2 separate regions of the Homo sapiens genome follow, and region 2 is linked to region 1. Evidence: promoter capture Hi-C in 16 types of primary human blood cells and fetal thymus (Javierre and others, 2016). All regions are on one chromosome and are shown on one strand. Each heading gives the region's core, a stretch centred on a gene start or on the middle of the fragment in contact. The rest is flanking DNA. Distances are from core to core; before and after follow the strand shown. Region 1 holds the start of ZNF100 (zinc finger protein 100). Region 2 has its middle 7.9 kb from the start of LINC00664.

The links. The method cuts DNA at HindIII sites, captures the fragments that hold promoters and counts their contacts. A CHiCAGO score of 5 or more calls a contact.
Region 2: a contact is called between a fragment that was not itself captured here and the fragment with the promoter of ZNF100 in region 1, in 1 of 17 cell types (monocytes). The highest score is 5.3, in monocytes.

The regions. Positions count from the first base shown.
Region 1 is chr19:21,763,115-21,770,253 of GRCh38, forward strand. It overlaps ZNF100 (zinc finger protein 100), which reads right to left and starts at 4,465. Exons shown (of 5, transcript NM_173531.4): 1 at 4,313-4,465; 2 at 2,580-2,672. The coding sequence starts at 4,315. RefSeq lists a silencer at 4,452-4,629. The HindIII fragment of the contact is 10,466 bases long and covers 1-7,139 here.
Region 2 is chr19:21,472,236-21,479,374 of GRCh38, forward strand. No RefSeq gene overlaps it. Among named protein-coding and RNA genes, the nearest start is that of LINC00664, 7.9 kb to the right of the region's middle. RefSeq lists an enhancer at 2,260-2,913. The HindIII fragment of the contact is 1,474 bases long and covers 2,514-3,987 here.

The DNA.
Region 1 (7,139 bases), core at 3,215-5,714:
AACCAGCAGTCCTTGGGGCTGCTCTGCCTGTAGAGTAAACCATTCTTTTATTTCTTATTAATAAACTTACTTTCACTTTATGGACTCACCTTGATTCTTGAGTGAAATCCAAGGACCCTCTCTTGGGGTTTGGATTGGGACCCTTTTCGGTAAAATCTCTGCACATATTTTTTCTTTTTCTCATGAAAAAAAATTGGCTAAGGCTGGCGTGGTGGCTCATGCCTGTAATCCCAGCACTTTGGGAGACCGAGGTGGGCAGATCACAAGGAGATTGAGACCATCCTGGCTAACATGGTGAAACCCCGTCTCTACTAAAAACACAAAAATTAGCTGGGCATGGTGGCACGCACCTGTATTCCCAGCTACTTGGGAGGCTGAGGCAAAGGAATCGCTTGAACCTGGGAGGCAGAGGTTGCAGTGAGCCGAGATTGCACCACTGCACTTCAGCCTGGCGACAGAGTAAGACTCCATCCCGGGGGGAAAAAAATCAGCTAAATTTGTCTTCAGTGGTCTAAGTAAAATTTTACGTGGGCTCCTGAACTTTGAGCTACCCTCAATCTGAGCTAACTTAAAACTTCATTCTGTGCCCCTCCTAAGAACATGCTGACTTCAGGGTAAAACATTCTCTAATCTAAAATCTAACCTTTTCAATCTCCAACTGCCATTCCCTTCCCACCTTCTCTCTAATCTTTTTTGCTCCACTGTATGAAAGAAAGCCCTCGTCTGCCTAAACTTGGCAATTCTTAAAGTTTTTATAGTTGGTATTCCTCCTGTTCTAATACTTTTTTGGAATTCAAATTTTTTAAATAAATTGAACTTGGTTATACATTACAAAGTCTAGAAACTGCCTTAAAACAATAACAACTTCATCATCAGCAAGACCCTCCCAATCCCCTTTTATGTTAACCTTAACTGCATCTGCCTGTGAGCCCCCAGCTTTCCAGGACTCTGTAGCTTCTCTCAGCAGATAGGCTTCTTCCATGGCTGCAGTGAGAAGGCTGGGACATCTGCAGGAGAGACTCCCCAGAAAAAACTAACAAGGCCGTTATTAAATTTCTTCTGCAGGCTCAATATTAGCCTTAGCTCTGAGTCACTGGGACCAAGCTCTAATTTCCATGTTAAGAGTTATTCACTTGGTTGTTGAAATTAAGTGTCTGAAAAATCCAGCAAAATGCAGTGTTCATATAAGGGAAGGGAATTTTAAGGTGCTTACATTTTATACCTCAATAAGAAAAGCAAAAGTATCAGGCCGGGCATGGTGGCTCATGCTTGTAATTCCAGCACTTCGGGAGGCCAAGGCGGGCAGATCGCGAGGTTAGGAGTTTGAGACCAGCCTGACCAACATAGTGAAACCCCGCCTCTACTAAAAGTACAAAAATTAGCCGGGCATAGTGGTGCGCCTCTAATCGCAGCTACTCAGGAGGCTGAGGCAGGAGAATCACTTGAACCCGGGAGGCGGAGGTTGCAGTGAGCCAAGATGGTGCCATTGCCCTCCAGCCTGGGTGACAGAACCAGACTCCGTGTGGGGAAAAAAAAAAAAAAGCAAAAGTATCTATTTCTTTCAGACAATAAACGTATTACTTTATTAATTCCATTTAAAATTATTTTGTAAACAATGAGTCATATGGGAGCACTTCTAAACAGTACCGAGTTTCATCTCATAAAATTTAGCATAAAACTCAAAAATCAATGTAACAGGATCTGAACACAGATATTCACTGTCACAAATTTACCCTGAAAAAAAAGAAACTGATGTTTTAATGAATCTATGTAACTCACCAATTATCCACCACATTTTCTTGTGGAAATGTATTCATTTTCCAAAACTAAAATTGAGAGATTTTGCCTGGGAGCATTCTAAAAGCTAAGCCTTGAAATTCTGTTTGAAATCACTCAGCCATAAAAAAAACACACCTGAGAAAATTCCTAACTCACTCTGGGAAAAACAGTAAATGAGAATTTTTAACAAATTTTTGACAAATGAAATACATGATCAGACATTTTTTTCTGAAACCCACCTCTTTCATGACCTTTGTAAATATTTTTCTACCTTTCAAGCCCTACTAATATAATGCAATTTACAGCTAAAAAACTGAGGTCAAAATAAGTGACAAATATCTTCAAGGTGACAAACCCAGGTAGTGGCAGTGCTGATTAAATAACAGATGTGTCTGACTCATGTTTCAAGTCAGGTCATTCAATCACTGGAGAGATTCTTCCACCCACTCCTGCTCACTTATGTGCTCAAGAACCACCCACTCAGAAGACACTGCATTATGCCCCAGTGACTGCCCCAGGTGCATTTTACTTTGCAAGCTCTTACACCATCTCACTGGGGTCAGTTCTGTTGTTGTTTGTCTTTTGGAATACTTTTTGGTAACAAAATTTTCACTTTTTTTTCCAATATTTTTCTTTATATTTATTTCACTATTTTTCTGCCCCCCTTAGATGATCCAGGGAGCAGAAATTATTTTTGTGTTTCCCCTCAATACCAGCATCTGATTGGCTGACCAGCAACGTGTCTCCAAGAAATGAAAGCTGGGTTGGGTGAAGACAATTTTAATGTCTCAAGGGGTTACCTTTTCAAAATAAGACTGCACCAGAAGACTCCTCTCAGCCCCAGGGCATCCACTTGCTCCCTTGAGAGGACACATTCCATACCTCGGGTCATCCTACGGGAGAAAATAAACCAGAAGCTGACATTCACTAGGCACTTTAGCTGACAGAACCATGGCGGATATCTCGGTTTATCCACAGATAGTACTGAAACCCAGGACCAGGAAAAAACTAAAGGGTGGCTGAGGACACATCACCCCATAGATTTTTCCAAATCAAAACCTTGACCCAAAAACATTCTGATAAATCTCTGTGCCTAGAGAAGGTAAAAGGAAAAGAGACACAGAGATTTTCTACAATACAGTGTCAGAGGATTAGTCTTTGTTTCCTTTTCGTGGGAAATATTTACAAGCGGATAACACATCTTCTTAAAAGCGCCATTTAATGCTTTGTCAAAAACAATTAATTAAAATATGGTATAAACAAGTACACTAAAGGACAAATAGGTGATAATGTGAATTAGGAAGGAAAAGTTGACATTTGGGAACGCCAGAAGAAATTGGAAATTTAGTATCTTACTGCAAGCCAGAGTGAGGCTGGAGAAATGGGGGACGGGGGTTAGACTTAACAACCTGCTTGGGACACAGGTGAAAAATGCAGCAGAAAATCAGTTCCCCGTGGAGTGTGAAAATAATTAAGAGACAGGCAATTCCACTGAGGTGTCTCTAGTCCCTGGGTTCCTACTTAAAAAAAAAAAAAATCTAACTCAGGTGCATTTTTTTTTTAATTACTACATTCAGAGAAAATGTAGGCTTAAACAACTATAAACTGTTAATTAACCTCTGATTACACAACCAGGAAATCTTCACCTGTATTGTACAAATCAAGAAACTACGTTACTGTAACCAATTACTAAATTTAGTTTTCTTCATCATACATTTTATAAATGACTTTCCTTCAAGCCTCTCCCATAGACAACAAACTACAAACCATAGCTGGATACTCTATGATTCTTGAATCACTGTTTGATTAAATTCTTTAGGCCAGGCGCGGTGGCTCACGCCTGTAATCCCAGCACTTTAGGAGGCCAAGGCGGGCGGATCACGAGGTCAGGAGTTCAAGACCAGCCTGGCCAACGAGGTGAAACCCCGTCCCAACTAAAAATACAAAAAAATAAGGCCGGCCCAGTGACAGGCGCCTGTAATCCCAGTTACTCGGGAGGCTGAGCCAGGAGAATCTCCAGAACCCGGGAGGCGGAGGTTGCAGTGAGGGGAGATCGCGCCACTAAACCCTAGCCTGGGCGACAGAGCGACTCCGTCTCAAACAAACAAAAAAATCGTTAATATTTGTGCAGTGACTCCCATACATTTTTAATAGGAGAAAAGAGGAACTGGGAAAGCCACGGACCAAAGATCTTCCCATTCATGAACCCGCACCCCGAGTCAGGATTTTCCCCTGACGACCCTCCCGTGGTCCCTGCACAATCTGAGAGAGACGCGGCGCTGCGGGTGCAGAGCTGCCAAGAGAGGGCTCCAGGCCAAGGCACAGTCACTACGCAGGGAAGAGAAAGGACGCCTGGGGTCCTGGCTGTCAGCGCAGCCGCCATCTTATGGCCGAAGGGGACGGAGGCCGAGCTGGGCAAGGCGCAGATTGTGAAGCTGACTGCGGAGAGGCCTGAGTCCCGCCACAGCTACTTCCCACCAGTTCCAACCAGCCCTTTCGCCGTCTCTCGGGATGTCGGACCGGGCACTCTCACCATTTCTAGGCTTCTAGGGGGTCCTGGCGTCTTAGCTGTGGATCTCCCAATATCTGCAGGTCAGAGGGCCACACAGGCTAGGCCCCTAGGAGCAGAAGACACAGAGAAGTGAGAGCAAAACCTGGAGCTCCGGCTACAGCGAGAGACAAAGACCCCGCCAAACCCGGAAGCCGTCCAGTCCGCTCCAGCTGCATGCCTGATTGGACGGTTTCCAGCCCAGCGTCCCTGGTTGGATAATGCTTAAATCCCCGCCCTGTCAGGCTTTGAGTGACAGAAGATGTGATCAGATGCGGGTTCAATGAAGAAAGAGTGACAGCCTAGACTGCCCCCTCTTCTGACAGGGCTTCCTCCCTCAGCTGAGCTAGGCCCATCCCAGAGAGTATTTGCCTTTAAATTTGTGTATAAGGTCATATGTATAAATAAATAATACATTATATAGCTATACACAAGTGAAAAGAATATAACAATTATTTTAAAATTTCAGCTTTTATGACCTTCCTGGCTTCTGGCCCTTTGAGCAGGCAGCCTGAGATTTTAGAAAAGAGAAAATCATCTAAAATGAATGTCAGCCACATGTGGATTTGAAATTTTCTAGTAGCCAAACTTTAAAAAGAAACAAGTTGAACTGATTGTTAACAATGTAATTCACCCATTATATTCAAAATATTATCATTTTAATGTGTGAGAAATATGTAATTATTGATAAAATATATAAATATTTGGAACTAAATCTTTGAAGCTGACTTTGTATTTTACCTTTCTAGCATATCGCATTTCAGACCAGGCACATTGTGGGAACCCAGTAGCCACACATGGACAATAGCTGTCACATTGAAGTGCAGCTCTGATGTCAGCGGTGTGAAGGGCCTGAACATCTCTTTCCTGCGAGAGTGAAAGAAGAGACTCTCCCTACAAACATCTCTCTTTGGTTCCTAGGGTGGACCAGATAGTTCCCATAGAAAGAGCTGAGGGCAGTAGGAATAAAATAGCCACAGGTAATAAACAACTGCTGGCCACCTGTTGCCCACCTTTCTTTTAGAGACCAGATAGTGAACAAAGGATGATGGGGCCACAGGAGAAAAAACAACTATGTCTTCAGTTCTGTCCACACACTTGAACTCCAGTATTTAGAGATGGAGAAAATAGATTAAAAACAAACATAGTTTGCTATATGGTCTTGGCCCTAACAATCAGGCTGTGTTTATCTGTTTTCTCCTGTGGTGTGGGGGACTATGTGAGTCTAAGCACCAATCACACGCATACATGTCTACAGGTATTTCTGCATTACCCAAAATTCTCTTACAAAACATCGAACTTTAAATCAGGGGAAGAAATCAGTACCTAGAGGGTGTCCACTGTTAGAAGCCAACTCTTAGTCAACCTGTCACTGAATCCTGGCAACTTATCTGTACTGGGTGCATGTATTAGTTAGCTATTGAGGCATAACAAATCATCCAAAACTTATTAGTTTATAATTGAAATGGTTGGCCATTTAGGCCGAGCTGAGTGGGGCCATTCTTCTGGTCTCAGCTGAGCTCCTTCAGACATGTATCATCACCTGCTTTTTGACTAGACAGCTGTGCATCTGGGGGTGAGCTTCTGCTCCTGGGTCTGTCAACAGGGGCACCTTGCTTCTCCTCTTCATGGTATCTTATTTTCCAGCTGGCTAACATGGGCATTATTCATGGAGATGGCAGCATTCTAAAAGAAAAAGAGAAGCAGTCAATACCATTTGAGCCTGGGCCCCAAACTGGCCCACTGTCATGTTCACAGGTTTCTGTTGACCTGAGCAAATAAGGTCAGCCAGATATAGGGCTTTGAAAACAGATTCCAGATCTTGATGGAAACAGCTGTAAAAGCACCTGGTTATGGGCAAAGATACAAGAGGGATGAAAAAATGTCATTTTGCAATCAGTATCATTCTACCTTTTTTGCATATGTGGTATATAGAACTCTTCCACATCAGGAAACTTGTGCAAAGTCCTACGGCTACTAAGTGGCTGGGCTGAGACTCAGGATCAACTTTATCTGACTCCAAAGCCCATGCACCTCCATAGATGACACTACTAAAGTAGCTGCCCTGCCCTAGACTATTGAAATCCTGGAGAGTGACACTTCCATAGTAGAAGTCAGATTCCTTTTAGATTTGTGCTCATTTGGGAATAATCCTCACAAAAATTGCAGAAGCACACGGTGGCTCTCACCTGTATTTTTAGTACTTTGGGAGGCTGATATGGGAGATTTATGTGAGCTTAGGAGTTCCAATGCAGCCTGATCAACATAATAAGATTCTGTTTCCATGACAAAAATGAAGAAATTAGCCACCCATGGTGGTGCATGCCTATAGTCCCAGATACTTAGGTGGCCGAGGCAGGAGGATTGCTTAAGCCTGGAAAGTCAAGGCTGCAGTGAGCTATGAGTAGTTACACCACTGCAATCAAGACTGGGTGACAGAGTGAGTCCCTGTCTCAAAAAAAAAAAAAGAAAGAAAAAAATTGGAGAAGCATTTTGAAAAGATATAAAATAATTTGGGGAAATAACTGAAGGATGAGTTTAGAAAATCAAAGACCAACAACACATTATTTATTTTTCATCATAGAAAATAGTTGAAATCCATTAAAAGGAAAAATCTTTAGAGAAATTAATAAATTTTTTAAATTTATTTTTTATTTTTGAGATGGAGTCTCGCTCTGTCACCCAGGCTGGAGCACAGCAGTGCGATCTTGGCTCACTGCAACCTCGGCCTCCCCAGTTCAAGCGATTCTCCTGCCTCAGCCTTCTGAGTACCTGGATTATAGGCATCCGCCACCACGACCAGCTAATTTTT
Region 2 (7,139 bases), core at 2,001-4,500, 290 kb before region 1:
TTGTCGCCCGGGCTGGAGTGTAGTGGTGTGATCTCGGCTCACTGCAACCTCCGACTCCCGGTTTCAAGCGATTCTCCTGTCTCAGCCTCCCGAGTAGCTGAGATTACAGGTGCCCACCACCATGCCCAGCTAATTTTTGTACTTTTAGTAAAGACAAGGTTTCACCATGTTGGCAAGGGTGGTCTCAAACTCCTGACCTGAGGCGATTCCCGCCCACCTTGGCCTCCCAAAATGCTGGAATTACAGGTGTGAGCCACCGCACCCAGCCCACACTCACCTTTCTTCACATACCCCCACCCCCAAGGTCTTTCACTTTTTTTCTGTGCTTGAAATTTTTTTAACATACATATTATTTTTAAAAATAAATTATATAACACACACACACACTCAGAGGTCTCACTCTGTCACCCAGGCTGGAGTGCAGTGGCTGAATCATGGGTTACTGCACTCTCAAACTCTTAGGCTCAAGTGATTTTTCCACCTCAGCCTCTCAAGTAGCTGGGACTATAGGCATGCAATACCACACCTGGCCAATTTTAAAATTTTTTTGTAGAGACTGAGGCTTAAAATGTTGCCCAGACTGGTCTTAAACTCCTGGGCTTAAGTGATCATTTCACCTTGGCCTGCCTCCCAAAGTGTTTGGATAACAGGTGTGAGCCATCAAGCCCAGGCAAAAAAAAAAATTTTTTTTTTTTTTTGATACAGAGTCTCGCTCTATTGCTCAGGCTCGAGTGCAGCTGCACGATCTCGGCTCACCACAACCTCTGCCTCCCGGGTTCAAGCAATTCTCCTGTCTCAGCCTCCCAAGTAGCTGGGACTACAGGGGCCTGCCACCATGCCCAGCTAATTTTTGTATTTTTAGTAGAGACGGTGTTTCACTATGTTGGCCAGGCTGGTCTCAAACTCCTGACTTTGTGATCCGCCCACCTCAGCCTCCCAAAGTGCTGGGATTACAGACGTGAGCCACCATGCCCGGCCTCAAAAATATATATTTTAAAATTTTTATTTCTTTTTGAGACGAAGTTTTTCCCTTGTTGCCCAGGCTGGAGTGCAATGGCATGATCTGGGCTCACTGCAACCTGTGCCTTCCAGGTTCAAGCGATTGTCCTGCCTCAGCCTCCTCAGTAGCTGGGATTACAAGCATGTGCCACCACGCCCGGCTATTTTTTGTATTTTTAGTAGAGGTGGGGTTTCACCATGTTGCCCAGGGTGGTCTTGAACTCCTGACCTCAGGTGATCCACCCGCCTCGGCCTCCAAAAGCGCTGGGATTACAGGCGTGAGCCGCTGCAGCTGGCCCTCAAAAATATTTTTTAAAGAACTGTTACAACCAAATAATGAGCTATGATGTGCCACTGCACTCCAGCCTGGGCACCAGAGTGAGACCTTGTCTCCAAAAACAAAACACAAAAACTTATAACAAAATTGAACTAATAAGGTTGTGTCATCTGTGTCCCCTCCCTACCCTCCAAGCTATCACTGTTAAATATAATGGGTATTGAGAAAACTGTTAGATATTATTAAAGAATTCCTATGTATCCTCCAGTTGAAAAGGTGTTCTGATGTGGCTCAAGTGCTTTCTGACCTCTACCTCCAGGGTCTAAACTAGCAAATCAAATCAGGACACCTACAGAAAACCGTTGGCCATTTTCTTTTCTTTCTTTCTTTTTTTTTTTTTTGAGACGGAGTTTCACTCTTGTTGCCCAGGCTGGAGTGCAATGGCGCGATCTCGGCTCACTGCAACCTCCGTCTCCCAGGTTCAAGCAATTCTCCTGCCTCAGCCTCCTGAGTAGCTGGGATTACAGGCGTGCACCACCACGCCTGGCTAATTGTATTTTTAGTAGAGACGGGGTTTCTCCATGTTGAGGCTGGTCTTGAACTCCTGACCCCAGGTGATCCGCCCGCCTCGGCCTCCCAAAGTGCTGGGATTACAGGCGTGAGCCACAGCGCCCAGCCTGGCCATTTTCAAATAGAAAATGAAACACACCCGTTAATGAAAGTAATCCAGTGATTTTCAAAAGGAGAAGTCAGACTGAGATGCAGCGCAGTCAGGGCACAATTACCCCAAGGATAGACGCTTCACACAAAATGCCTGAGGAGCCTTTCTAAGATGAGCACATTTGGCCAACGTAATTCATGCTTACCCATTCTCAGCCCCCTCTGCCCACCTCCCCCCCGCCCCATTCCTAATGGCCATCCCACGATGTGGTCAGCAGTGTGGTACAGCATGGTGAGAGAGGGGCTCAGGGATGGGATGAAGGTTTTTCCTGCATTATCAAAATGATTAAAAAGTTGTTAAAAAGGTGTCCAAATTTTCTTTTTACCCTAAAATAACTACTCAGATGCATTATACAAGTAGACCCAGGTAAGGGAAAGAGCAAGCGCATTTCAAGCCTCAGCTCACTTCTTAATTAGCTGTAATTCCCTGAGCAGGTGACCCTGCCTACTTCAGCCTGTTTCCCTGCCCATAAAATGCACTAATGCTGGGGAAGCCGCGCTGGGAGGTGGGTCCTGAAGCTTTATCCAATCAGTGGCGCTGGCGCGGGAACCGCCCAATCAGGCGCGGAGTTGGAGAGGAGGGCGTGGCCTCCGGCATTTGGCGGGCCCTTTGTCTCGCTCCTGCCAGAGTTTTAGTTGCCTGTCTCTGCTATTCTGCGTCCTCCACCTCGGGAGCCCCAGGTGACTTTGTCACAGCCGGTGGGTGTGCGGGTTGAGCATCCCGAGATGGGAGAGCGGCCTGTGAAACCGGCTGGACCGGCCTCCCCACAGTCCGCTCCTGGGTCGCCGACCTGAGTCCCCGCTGGCACAGCTCCGCTCCAGGCCACTCTGGCCGCAAGATGGCGGCTGGACTCGCAGCCAGGACCACAGCGTCCCGCCAGTTTCTGCGCGGCGCCAGTCCGGGGCTCTCTGGGCAGCTCTGCACCCGCAATCCCGAGTATTTCCCGGGTTGTTCAGGGAAGACAGGCGGGTCATCGGCAGAATCCCCACTCGGTGTATGCGTTGGAGGGGCTGCTGCCCGTGGGGTCTTAAGTCTTTTCTGATTATTATTATTTTTTTGTGAGACGGAGTCTCGCTTTTGTCTCCAGGCTGGAGTGCAGTGGCATGATCTCGGCTCACTGCAACCTCCGCCTCCTGGGCTCAAGCGATTCTCGAGCCTCAGTCTCCCGAATATCTGGGATTACAGGCACCCGCCACCATGCCCGGCTAATTTTTTGTATTTTTAGTAAAGACAGGGTTTCACTATGTTGGCCAGGCTGGTCTTGAACTCCTGACCTCAGATGGTCCGCCCCCCTCGGCCTCCGAAAGTGCTGGGATTACAGGCGTGAGCCACCGCGCCCGGCCACAAAGAAATTTTTCCGCCGTCCTTTTCGGCCACAAATAAATTTTTCCGCCGTACTTTTCGTATTTATTAAATTTTCTCATTAGAGCCTATTATTGATTGTAATGCATTTTTCTGTGAAATTTTGCTGCCATTCATTGAATGCCAATGATTCAGAATGCCTGCTCTGCAAGAGTACACACAGCTAAAAACTGTAGATATCTAAAGAATTATTTTTAATATCTATGTTGTATTCAGCATATTATGCGTTAAAATCTCTCTTGGCCGGGCGCGGTGGCTCACCCCTGTAATCCCAGCACTTTGGGTGGCCAAGGCGGGTGGATCACCTGAGGTCAGGAGACCAGCCTGGCCAACATGGTGAAACTCCTTCTCTACTAAAAGAAAAATACAAAAATTAGCCAGGCTTGGTGGTGGGTGCCTGTAATCCCAGCTACTCGGGAGGCTGAGGCAGGAGAATCGCTGGAATTCGGTAGGCTGAGGTTGCAGTGAGCCAAGATCACGCCACTGCACTCCAGTATGGGTTACAAGAGCGAGACTCCGTCTCAAAAAAATAAATAAATAAAATCTCTCTTATTTTTATTTCTACATTAGTGTTTCTTTTCGAGGGGGTATGTTTTTTTAGATCAGTTAATTGTATTTTTGCTTTCAAAGCTTGATATTATGAATTGAATGATAATTTTCAACTCTGTACAATTTTAGACAATGTGATGCTTAATTTATATATGAATTAGCCGTATGTCATCTATAGAAATATCGATGTGTTTTTCATCTGTGTTGCCACTACTTCGTTTATGACATACTCTTTCCATGGTTTTCAATGATTATTCTGTCTAGGTGAGTAGTCGGGAAAATAATCCTAAATTCACAATCTACTTATATTTTGAATCTGTATAATTATGTGAGAAGAACACTCTTTATTTGAAGGTAATGTTTGAAAAATGTCGTAATGTCTCTTATGTAGTCTTTAATTTTTTTTTTTGAGACTGAGTCTCTGTCGCCCAGGCTGGAGTGCAGTGGCGCGATCTTGGCGGGACTCCATCTCAAAAAAAAAAAAAAAGAGCTTCTGCACAGCAAAAGAAACTATCAACAGAGTAAACAGATAACATACAGCATGGGAGAAAATTTTTGCAAACTATGCATCCGTCGAAGGTCTAATGTCTAGCATCTATAAGAACTTAAACAAATTTACAGTAGAAAAACAACAACCCCGGCTGTGCGTGGTGGCTCATGCCTGTAATTCCAGCACTTTGGGAGGTCGAGACGTTTGGATCACTTGAGGTCAGGAGTTCAAGACCAGCCTGGCCAACATGGCGAAACCCTGTCTCTACTAAAAGTACAAAAATTAGCTGGCTGTGGTGGCATATGCCTATAATCCCAGCTACTGGGGAGGCTGAGGCAGGAGAATCGCTTGAACCCAGGAGGCGGAGATTGCAGTGAACCAAGAGTGCACCACTGCACTCCAGCCTGTGTCAAAGAGTAAGACTCTATCTCAAAAAAAAAAAAAAAAGAAAAACACCAACTCCATAAAAAAGTGGATGAAATAGGGCCAGGCTCAGTGGCTCATGCCTGTAATTCCAGCACTTTGGGAGGCCAAGGTGGGTAGATCACTTGAGGTCAGGAGTTCAAGATCAGCCTAGCCAACATGGTAAAACCCCATCTCTATTAAAAATACAAAATATCGCTGGGCACAGTGGCTCATGCCTGTAATCTCAGCACTTTGGGAGGTCAAGGTGGGCGGACCACCTGAGGTTGGCAGTTCGAGACCAGCCTGACCAACATGGAGAAACCCCATCTCTACTAAAAATACAATTAGCCGGGCATGGTGGTGCATGTTTGTAATCCCAGCTACTCTGGAGACTGAGGCAGGAGAATCACTTGAACCCAGGAGGCAGAGGTTGTGGTGAGCCAAGAGTGCACCATTGCACTCCAGCCTGGGCAGCAAGAGCGAAACTCCATCTCATGATGGTGGACACCTGTAATCCCAGCTACTAGGGAGGCTGAGGCAAGAGAATTCCTTGAACCTGGGAGGCAGAGGTTGCAGTGAGCTGGGATCCAGCCTGGGTAACAGAGCAAGACTGCCTCTCCAAAAAAAAAAAAAAAAAAGTGGGGGAAGGACATGAACAGACGTGTATCAACAATCATATGAAAATAAGCGCAACACCACTGATTGTTAAATAAATGCAAATCAAAACCACAATGAGATACCATCTCATGCCTGTTAGAAAGGCTATTTTTAATAAGTTACAGAAATAACAGATGCTGGCGAGGTTGTGGAGAAAAAGAAATGGTTATATACTGTTGGTGGGAGTGTAAATTACTTTAGCCATTGTTGAAGACAGTGTGTTGATTTTTTTTTTTTTTCTCCTGAGACAGAGTTTTGCTCTTGTTGCCCAATCTGGAGTGCAATCACACGATCTCAGCTCACTACAACCTCCACCTCCCGGGTTTAAGCGATTCTCCTGCCTCAGCCCCCTGAGTAGCTGGGATTACAGGAACGTGCCACCACACCCAGCTAATTTTTGTAGTTTTAGTAGAGACAGGGTTTCGCCTCATTGGCCAGGCTGGTCTCAAATTCCTGACCTTAGGTGATCTGCCCGCCTTGGCCTCCTAAAGTGTGGGGATTACAGGTGTGAACTGCCATGCCCAGCCTAGTGTGATGAGGAATCCTATTACTGTATATACCCACAGGAATATAAATTATTCTATTATAAATACACATGCACATGTATGTTCACTGCAGCACCATCCACCACAGCAAACACATGGACTCAACCTAAATTTCCATCAATGATACACTGGACAAAGAAAAATGTACATATATACCATGAAATACTATGGAGTCATAAGAAAAATGAGATCATGCCCCTTGCAGAGATCTGCATGGAGCTGGAGGCCATTATCCTTAGCAAACTAACACAGGAACAGAAAACCAAATACTACTTGTTCTCACTTATGAGTGACAAGTAAATAATGAGAACACGGACACGGGGGGGAATGACACACTGGGGTCTTTCAAAAAGTGGAAGGTGGGAAGAGAGGATCAGGAGAAATAATGGTACTAAGCTTAATACCTGGGTTATTAAATAATCTATACAACCCCATGACACAAGTTTACCTATGTAACAAACCTGCACTTGTACCCTAACACTTAAAAGTTTTTAAAAAGACCTATTTGTACCTTTTAAAGAGGAATCAGCCAGTAATTTCAAAGATGATTTTGTTTATAAAACATAATCTTCCACTTGTCCAGTAAATGCTCTTCATTTATTTATTTATTGGAGACAGACACTGTCTCCCAGGCTGGAGTGCAGTGGTGCAGTCTCAGCTCACTGCAACCTTTGCCTCCCAGGTTCTAGCGATTCTCCTGCCTCAGCCTCCCGAGTAGCTGGGATTACAGGCCTATGCCACCACACCTGGCTAATTTTTTATTGTTATTAGAGACGAGATTTCACCATGTTGGCCAGGCTGGTCTTGAACTCTTGACCTCAGGTGATCCACCTCCCTCAGCTTCCCAAAGTGCTGGGATTACAGGCTTGAGCCACCACGCTCAGCCAGAAGCTCTTTAACTTAATTAGATCCCATTTGTTAATTTTTCCTTTTGTTGCAATTGCTTTGGCATCTTTGCCATGAAGTCTTTGCCTGCGCCTGTGTCCTGAATGGTACTGCCTAGGTTGTCTTTCAGAGTTTTTATAGTTTGGGTTTTACATTTAAGTCTTTAATCCATCTTGAGTTATTTTTTGTGTATGGTGTAAGGAAGGGATCCAGGTTCAATTTCCTGCATATGACTAGCCAGTTCTCCCA